3 separate regions of the Homo sapiens genome follow, and all the other regions are linked to region 1. Evidence: promoter capture Hi-C in human tissues and cell types (Jung and others, 2019). All regions are on one chromosome and are shown on one strand. Each heading gives the region's core, a stretch centred on a gene start or on the middle of the fragment in contact. The rest is flanking DNA. Distances are from core to core; before and after follow the strand shown.

Region 1 (2,946 bases), core at 418-2,917:
CACACACTGGCCTTGGGCCCCTGGCCTCCATCCATGCAGGAGGGGTTTGTCACTACTCCCTGACGGTCCTCTTGGGCTCAGGCACCCAAACGCTAGGGCTCAGCACCCAGCCGGGGGCCGTGGCATAGCACATCTGCCCAGATGTTTTCAGGAGATCTGAGTGGGAGCCATGGGGCCAGCCAAGAGGGCAGGGAGCCCCGGATTTGCAGAAGCAGCTGAGGAAAGAGCTGGCATTGCTCAGACTCGCCAGTGTTAGCCAGCCGATATCGGTCAAGGCTGCCCCGCTCGAGGGTCCATTATCCCCTTTCCCCGGCCTCAGCTGTGCACTCCAGGCCATAACAGCACAAGACCTTTCCACAACCCCAGGGTAAGGGTCAGATGTGGGGTTTCCAAAAGCTTCAAAACTTACCCCTCTATCCAGCTCTATCCAGAAGGACACCAGGGGACAGAGAGATGGACACGGAGGCCTCAAAACAGGAAAATAAGGAGACCCCTCCCCATTGTTGATTACTTGGGGTTACCTACAGAAAGAGATGAACTGAAGGGGCTGAGCCTATCTGAGGATTAAAGCACAGCTTTTGTCAGGAGTCCGTGCCTCCGGTCTTTGTTCCAGCGACCTGAGGAATGGCATGCATCAGAAGCCGCTTCCGTGTCTCAGATGGGGCCTGGGTCAAGTCCTGGGAGTTGATGGAGCGTTTCCCAAATCGCAAAAGGAGAGGAGCTAGACTTACCTCCCCCTCCTGGGAAGTAATGCGCGACAAGAATTTAAACTCTTAAAACGATTAGCAGCAAAGGTCTCATGTGCTTTTTTTTAATTATCATTTTTTAATCGAGGTATAATTTATGCATTTAAAAAATCAGATCAATTGCCCCCCGGGCTCTGGGATGGAAGGCGGTGTGCGCCTGCGAAGGTCAGAGGCCCAGCGGCGCCAGGGCTCCTCGGCGGAGAGCCGCCCGGGTCCGGCGCTTTGCTTTCGCCTTCTGCCCCACCGCGGGCGAAGCCCCAGGGCCCCGGGGAGACTCCAGGCCGGCTGGGCCGGGGTGCGCCCGCCGGCTGTCCGCGCTCGGGCAGGGTGGGGCGCAGCGGGCGTCTGTCCTGCTAGCGGGGATCGGGCGGCTGGACCCAAGAGCAGGGCACGTGCGCAGCGACGCGGGGCGGCCCCGCCAGGAGCCCCGACCCGGGCGCGGCGCAGGGCCCGGCGGAGAGCGCGCATTCCCGAGCGCCGCGAGCCGGCCGAAGTCGGGCGAGCGCGCCGTGCGGCGGCTGGGAGTGGGCTGCATGTGCCGCGCGGGGAGCCCGCCCGACTTCGGGGAGGCAGCGGGGCGCCGTGGCCCCGCGGCTCAGCTCCCTGCCGGGTCGGGTGTCCCAGCCCTGCGACTTCCGGGGCCCGGCGGCTCCTCGGGGAGCTCGTCCACAGGCAGCCTCCGGGGCGAGAGAGCGCGCGGCGCGGGCGCCGGGACGGTCCGCGGCACGCGGGTGGAGCCGCCGGCGCTCGGGCTCCCGCAGGGGCGGCGGGCGGGGCGGGGTGAGGCGGGCCGGCCGCCCTCCCCTCTCCTCCCTCCCGCAGCCCGCCCTCCCTTCCTCCGGTCCCGCAGCCAATTAGGCGGCCCCCTCGGGCGGGAGGCGTGGGGCGCTGCATAAAGCGGCGGGGAGCTGCCACCCCGGGAGCGGGCTGCGCAGTGTCCGGGCCGAGCCGGTGCGCCGCAGACTAGGGCGCCTCGGGCCAGGGAGCGCGGAGGAGCCATGGCCACCGCTAACGGGGCCGTGGAAAACGGGCAGCCGGACAGGAAGCCGCCGGCCCTGCCGCGCCCCATCCGCAACCTGGAGGTCAAGTTCACCAAGGTGAGGCGGGCGCCCCTCCCACCCGACGGCCGCGGGCCCCTGCGCTGGGCAGCCAGACTCGGGGCGGCGGGGGCGAGGGAGCAGCGGGCCGGGGGTCCGCCGGGCGCCGCCGAGACCCGAGCCTCCCTGCCCGGGCGCGGCTCTCCAGAAACCGCACCTTTCGCGGGACGTCTCGGGCGGGATCGCAGGCGGCGGGGCTCGGCGCTGTGAGCCTCGAAGCCGGGAAACCGAGGCCGTCCAGCGCCCGCGCGGGGCCGGGCCGCCCGCATCCCTGCGAGGCCCCGACGTGTCCCTGCGCTGCCCGCTTTGATCGCGAGTGGAGGTGCGCGCCGCGTTGACTCGGAGCGCGCTGGTTTTGGGGAGCTCCCTCCCCAAAAACCCCTGCGATGATTTCCAGGGTGGACGAGTCTGGCTTTGAGAGGGTCGGAGGGTCCGAGAGCGCCAAGAGAGAGTCCGGGAGGCAGATGGCGGAGCTGCAGTTGGAAGACTGGGGAAGCGGGTCCTCCGAGCAAAGCGCAGCGGGCGCCTTCCGTGCTTAGTTTATACCCGGCTCAGCAGCAGAACGAGGAGGAGTAGGAAGGTGCTCGCTTACTGACGAAACCTCCCCGGAGCCCAGAGGTCCCGGTGTTTACACACAAGGCGCGCGCTCCGGAAGGTCGCAGACCTGGGCCTTTGGGAAGCGGTGGGTCGCGAGGCCGCAGAAGCGCACGGTTCTCTGCCTCCTCGCTCTGTGGGCTGGGAGGCTACAGCGTTGGCAGAACGGCGAGATTACCTGCCCGGGGCAGAAAGGAATAAAAGAAGATGGTGAGGCCTCCGAGGCCTCTGAGCTGGGGCTGAGGAGGGCCGAGAGACCCGGGTCCGGGAGCGCGACCCGATGGAGGACACCCCCAGGCTGTCTGGCGTGCGCGTCTGTCGTGGGCCGGTGCTGGGGCACTTTAGAGGCACAGGCCAGGCCGAGAGCCATTGCCTTAACTTTCCCCACCTTTGGCTTCTCTTGATTTTTGCTTTTACCCATAGCCCCCAACTCCAGCTGACACCGCACTTAGAGAATTTCCTCATCCGTTTTACTTTAAGAAGTAGCAATTATCTTTCTCAAAGAATTT
Region 2 (2,898 bases), core at 250-2,749, 35 kb before region 1:
TAAATTCTAGCTGTCTCTCTGGAAGGGAAACATTTTACCAGGTAATAGAAGAAATTGGAAACTTTTCATATTTTACAGCGGGACCATCAGCTTTACCCTGTCCTATTTTAGCAACAAGAGTTATGTTCACAAAAATAAGCACAAGTCACTTAACTGGGACATGCTCTTTTTTTTTTTTAACGTAGATAATGGGAAACTAGCAAGAAAGAAGTTAGTGATACAGACCTAGTACCAGAAGACGCTGGTACTACGGAGACCCTCTGAAATAGAGTTTGCAGTGAGGATTCGTTTGGTGGTTTTTGTTGTTGTTGTTGTTGGTTTTGTTTTTGGTTGAGTCCAAAGTATTCTCTAATTCTTGATGTGAGGATAATTTGTAAATGTCAGTGACCCACAACAGCCCTGGGACAGTATTTTGAAGGAAAGCAGAAAATAATTCAAATAGTTTCCGTACTATGATCTCTGGCTGATTGACTGATGACATGTAATAAGTTACAGAATGTACTGTTTAGATAAATGCTTCTTGAACCTGGATGCAACTAACAAGCATGCAGGTCACTGTGTGGGGAAGTGCCAGGACGTAGGATGGACCCAGTTAGTGGGTGCCTCTGTCAGAGCGCAGCTGTGTTGGAAAAGCATGGAATAGACTTGAGTCCCGAACAGCTGGATCCAAATCCGCACATTCCTCCGGGTGCTGCCTTTCAAAGCAGCCCCTTTGGGTGGCTGGACTCCCGCTCCCACGATGCAGCTTTGGAACATGCTTGGAATTGCAGAATGTGGACTCACCTTGCCAATAAACCTCACCAAAAAAGGTTAATAAGTCTCATAAAAAAAAGTGATCTCATTACCTTGCTTACGTTCAAAAGATTTTTTTTAAAGAAAACAAAAATGGTGTTACCTACTATGATTATTTCTACACCAGATCTGAGTGACTTAGAACTGTTTTCAAAATGAAGCCCGCCCTCAAAGAACAAGGATTTGTCACTTACAAGGAAAATCAAAATCATGCTCCCCAAGCCCTGAGCTGTCCGGGTATGTTTTAGACAGGGCTGGATTGCTGGAGTGAAATGTGGGCCCACTCCTAACGCGACAACGTCGGGTGCTCCGGTGAGAGCGATGTTTTCTAAGCATGACCACATGACCTCAGATGACACCTGGAGGGTATGTGGTCCACAGTGTGAACAGCTTGTTTGCCTGGTGTGAGGTCTCTGCCACCTGATCAAGTGAAGGGCTAAGAGGCCTTCGAATCTGGGAAAGATACATGGGGACAACACCTTGCCTAGGCGGAGCCACCCTTAGCTGTTATCCCAGGGTCATTTAGACCCATTGTCCCAAGGTCAGATAAAGTCGGTCACTTTAGAGGGTTGCATCTGCTGACCAAGACTTACCCCTGAAGGGCCCAGGTCACAGATGTCTGATTCTGGCCTCTCAGGGAGGTTCTTTCATGTCACTGGAGAGAGAGGTGTGCAAGTGGCCCTAGGGAGGGGCCAGAAAGTATCTGAGCGTGGGCTGCTTCTTGACCCCTCCAGGAGCAGAGGCCCGGACACTCAGGCATCCTGCCACTGTGCCTTTCAGAAAGACAGCAGGGGGTGCATCAGAAATCATCTGACCACTCTGCTTTTTGGCTCATGGTTAGGTCCCATTTGAGACTCGAATCAGAGTAGCTGTGTATTTACCTAAGAGAACTCTTTTTTTAAAATAAAAATAAAAATAAAATAAAATAAACACCAACTTTATTAATGTGATAGCATTTTTTGTTTGTTTTGAGACAGAGTCTTGCTCTGTTGCCCAGGCTGGAGTGCAGTGGTGCGATCTTCGCTCAGTGCAACCTCTGCCTCCTGGGTTCAAGAGATTCTCATGCCTCAGCCACCCGAGTAGCTGGGACTACAGATGCGCAAGACCACACCCGGCTAATTTTTGTATTTGTAGTAGAGACGGGGTTTCACCATGTTGGCCAGGCTGGTCTCGAACTCCTGATCTCAAGTGATCCACCCGTCTCAGACTCCCAAAATGCTGGGATTACAGGCTTGAGCCACCGTGCGGGGTCCCCAATTTTTTTAAAGGAAAATAACACGAAACCAGCACCGCCAGGTAAGTGTTACAAGACTAAATGTGCACATTTCTTGTTTTGATAGCTTCCACACACCAAAGCCCCCTCAAGGACAACTGCCACCAGAGTTGCTGCAAGAACACGTTTTTCACTGGGTTAGCTTCACTGTCAACTCCTCAAGCAGCAGACTGAAATATTATTTCTTTTTAGAAGACCTAAGTTTAGGGAGAACATATCAATATGGAGAACAGAGCTTTGCTTCTGGAATTCGAGAAAAACCATGAACGAATCTATCAGTTTTTCTCTGATACAGTGTGCCCGAGTGCTCTGTGAAGAATCCTTTTCCATTTCTCTCATGTGTCTGGGTGAAGGGAGAGGAGGGGTGGCAAGGTGCTGGTATATTACCAGGCGCTCCTGGTGATGCCCTGGGCTCTGCTCCCTTTCTGCTGGTGGCAGAAGGCTTATTTTCTGGCAGCTGCAGCAGCTTGATGTGGAAGAGGAAGGGGACACCCACCAATCATCTTTTTTTTTTTTTTTTTTTTTTGAGACAGAGTCTCGCTTTGCCACTTGGGCTGGAGTGCAGTGGCACAATCTCAGCTCATTGAAGCCTCTGCCTCCCAGGTTCAAATGATTCTCATGCCTCAGCCTCCTGAGTAGCTGAGATTATAGGCATGTGCCACCACACCCGGCTAATTTTTGTATTTTTAGTAGAGATGGGGTTTCGACATGTTGGCCAGGCTGGTCTGGAACTCCTGATCTCAGGTGATTCGCCTGCCTTGGCCTCCCAAAGTGCTAGGATTACAGGCATGAGCCACTCAGCCCCACCCAATTACCTCTTCTTGAAGCTGTAT
Region 3 (2,946 bases), core at 1-2,500, 49 kb after region 1:
GTTTAGCATTAAGAAAATTATGTTACATGTTAATGAATTACAATAATAACCAAATCCTCATAAGGAATCTGGTGAGAAGCTACTAATTTATACCCATACTCAGAGTTTTAAGGTCCCACAGGTGGTACCAGCAGAACTGAGCCTGTGAGCCCCAGCCCTGGAGCTCACTAACAGAAGTTATTAATTCCAGGGACTAAAGCCTACAGTGCTCCCTCTGTAAAGCCCAATTTTAACGCATTGCATGTTGGATTTCATTTTCGCAGAATATATTAATAAATGTGTACACTAAGACTACAGCCAAGGAGCAGGTAATGCTCAAAGGGTGGCGTGTGGCCACGTCTGTGTGCTGGGATTGCAGTCACTGTGCTTTGCTCATCGGTGCTGTTTATGTTTCCTGCAATATCTACACATTGCTTTTTGTTTTGTTTTGCCTTCTTTTGCATCCAGACGAATAATATTGCAAGTTATTTTTAAATTATTGTTTATTTAAGTACTGATGATTTGTGTTTAGAATCTAAACGGTAAACCTCCTGTGCTTACATCCAAAGTTAGATCTGCCTCCACTGGCCTCTTTGCCTTGAAGTCTTTCTGGAATAAATGCGGAATACTTGACTTACTATGACTGCAGCTGATCCCCCCGCAGGACTCACCCTCTGCACATGTCCCCAGAGCCTAAGCTGGATTTGTCCCATCCCACCTTCTCCTAGACTTCCTGGGATGATAGGGAGCCCTGTTTCCCCTCTCCCACCCCCCAAATCCACCAGCCTCACTCAGGGAACACTGTTCAGGCCTAATTTCCAGCTCCGGCTGAGAAAAGTTGGCCGCCAGAAGGAAAACTAACGACACTCAAAATTATGTAGGGACAGCTTTCTCATGCTTTAAAAATCCTTGGAAGATAACGTGATTGAAAACGACGACGTTCTTATTATACTTCCACGTGTGCGTTAGAAAAAGACCCACACTTTAAAAAAGAGTGTCTACTCTTGGGTGTTGGGGTAATGGTATTTTTAATTTTTTATTTGTGTACTAGGCACGCCTTTTCACACCCCCTACCTGTTGTGACTTGCGTGACCTCAGCTCATGTTTGTTTACAATGGTTAATCCTTTCAAAGCCCCTGGATGTGGGGGGCTTTGCCCAGCTGGTGTGAGGCTGGGGTCTGTGTGTGTCTGCCCTGCCGTGCGGCCCGCTGTGTGTTTGTGCAACACAATTGTGTCCCAGGAAGGTGTGTGACAATCTCAACCTCATTAGCACCAGCAGCAGTCAGCTCGCCTGCGGTGCAAGAGGAATGGTTGGAAAGCTTTGATGGGCGTAGAGTTTGCCAGCTGACAGAGCAGCTGTCAATGAGATGCTGGGCATGGGCTGCAGGACGCGCATTACTTTGACAAACATGTCATTAGATGTTCATTCTTCTGAGTATGTCTGACACCAGCCAGAGTGGAAAAACCAGTCCCGCCAGCCAAGGAGAGCTGTCCTGGAAAGTAGAGAAGTCAGGAAACTTCCACATAATTCAGGTGGAGAATACTTGGGAAGACTTCTGGATTGCGGAGGGTGGGTGGAACTTGAGCAGACATCACCCAGGCAGTGGCTCGCCCCCCCAGCTCTCTGTGAGTGGCCGTCGCTTCGGTCCTGAAAGCCCTGCCACAGTCACACACCTCTCAGAGCACTGCCCACCACCGGACCCAGCATGGACCAAAGGAGGAGAAGGAACATTCCAGAAGTTCTTCAAATCCCAGGTTGTTTCATGGCTACTTCCAATGTCTTGTTTTTTTCTCCTTTGGCTTTTGCGAATCTGTATTTGAAATACAACTCCTTAATATAGGAGCTAAGAGGTTTGCTCAAGTAGGGTCTCTTCCTGCCTTCCAGAAATAGAACTAGGAAATAGATCAAATTAGGAAGAGCCTCTAGGGTGGCAGCCAGCCTTCTTGTCAGGCCACAGCAGGAAAGTCTACGAGGGACAGATCCCCAGTGATGAGCCAGCCCACATCTCTGACCTGTTCCTCCTGTTGGATTCCTGCCTGAACGTGCTGGGCTGTGTTCACACCGTGAGAGCCACAGGAAACAGGGCAGGCAGGGCCTTGCAGGGAAGGAGATTCCAGCCTGGCTGCAGGAGTTCACCAGCCCCTCCAGGGAGCACAGCCACGTCTGGTCAGGAATCTTTTAATGAGTGAGGAGAAGGACAGGGAAGCTGATTGGTGGCCCAGGTGGCAGGCGAGGTGGCTGTGTGCGTCCATCCATGCAGGTGGCAGTTAGCACAGCTGTGCTTCATGCTTACAAAGCAGAGGCCAGCTACAGATGCTCCAGGCCCTTGATGAGCCTTTGAACATTCGTTTTAACCTGAGGCTTAGATCTTCTCCTGGTTACTTGTCTGGAATGTGCTTGCTTACTTCTAGCAATGGGGAGCTGACTCCCTAGCAAACAACGCCAGCCTTTCTGTGGGCAGCTCTGGTAGGAAGTGGATGCTGTGGGGCTCTCTTTGCACCAGGCTTTATTCATTTAGACAGATCGGAATCCCTTAACCCATTTCTTGGAGTCACTAAAAGCAGATGTGTTGCCCTCCCTGCAGATTCCTTTTTAGGCTGAGTAAGCCATCCCACGGACAGGCCGCCGGCAACTTTACACGTTCCGCTTGGATATCCAAGAGTTTTTTGACTTCTCAGTCTGTCTGTGGGCTAATTATTAGGCCATACACACCTGGGTCCACAGGGAGAGCTGCCCCTACCTGCTTCCCCACCCTGCCGTGGACCGGCTTTCAGGAGCACCCCCACTGATCCACCCCATCCTAGGTGGCCCAAGCCTGAATGTGGTAGCTCACCAGAGCCCCAGTCCTCACCCCCTCCCTGGCCTCCCCCACCCCACACTTGCTCCTGACTTGGCCTCCTTTATGTGGGGTGTGCAGGGCAGCCCTATCTGGTGGCCTCTGTGCTTGCTAGGGAGCAGCCCAGGCT

Evidence for each region. The method cuts DNA at HindIII sites, captures the fragments that hold promoters and counts their contacts. A contact is called where the count stands out against the background at its distance.
Region 2: a fragment that was not itself captured here is called in contact with the fragment with the promoter of ALDH1A3 in region 1 in 3 of the 25 tissues and cell types used here (IMR-90 fibroblasts, dorsolateral prefrontal cortex and pancreas).
Region 3: a contact is called between a fragment that was not itself captured here and the fragment with the promoter of ALDH1A3 in region 1, in 1 of the 25 tissues and cell types used here (bladder).

What each region holds. Positions count from the first base shown.
Region 1 is chr15:100,878,164-100,881,109 of GRCh38, forward strand. It overlaps ALDH1A3 (aldehyde dehydrogenase 1 family member A3), which reads left to right and starts at 1,668. Exons shown (of 13, transcript NM_000693.4): 1 at 1,668-1,843. The coding sequence starts at 1,745. It overlaps LOC124903575 (collagen alpha-1(I) chain-like), which reads right to left and starts at 1,640. Exons shown (of 1, transcript XM_047433433.1): 1 at 783-1,640. The coding sequence starts at 1,640. The coding sequence ends at 858. RefSeq lists a silencer at 1,589-1,708 and an enhancer at 2,200-2,714. The HindIII fragment of the contact is 10,500 bases long and covers 1-2,852 here.
Region 2 is chr15:100,843,728-100,846,625 of GRCh38, forward strand. It overlaps the pseudogene PHF5AP6. Among named protein-coding and RNA genes, the nearest start is that of GCAWKR, 4.6 kb to the right of the region's middle. The HindIII fragment of the contact is 6,076 bases long and covers 1-2,898 here.
Region 3 is chr15:100,927,684-100,930,629 of GRCh38, forward strand. The region is part of intron 2 of LRRK1 (leucine rich repeat kinase 1); the gene reads left to right. Among named protein-coding and RNA genes, the nearest start is that of LRRK1, 9.8 kb to the left of the region's middle. RefSeq lists an enhancer at 1,635-2,588. The HindIII fragment of the contact is 4,366 bases long and covers 1-2,946 here.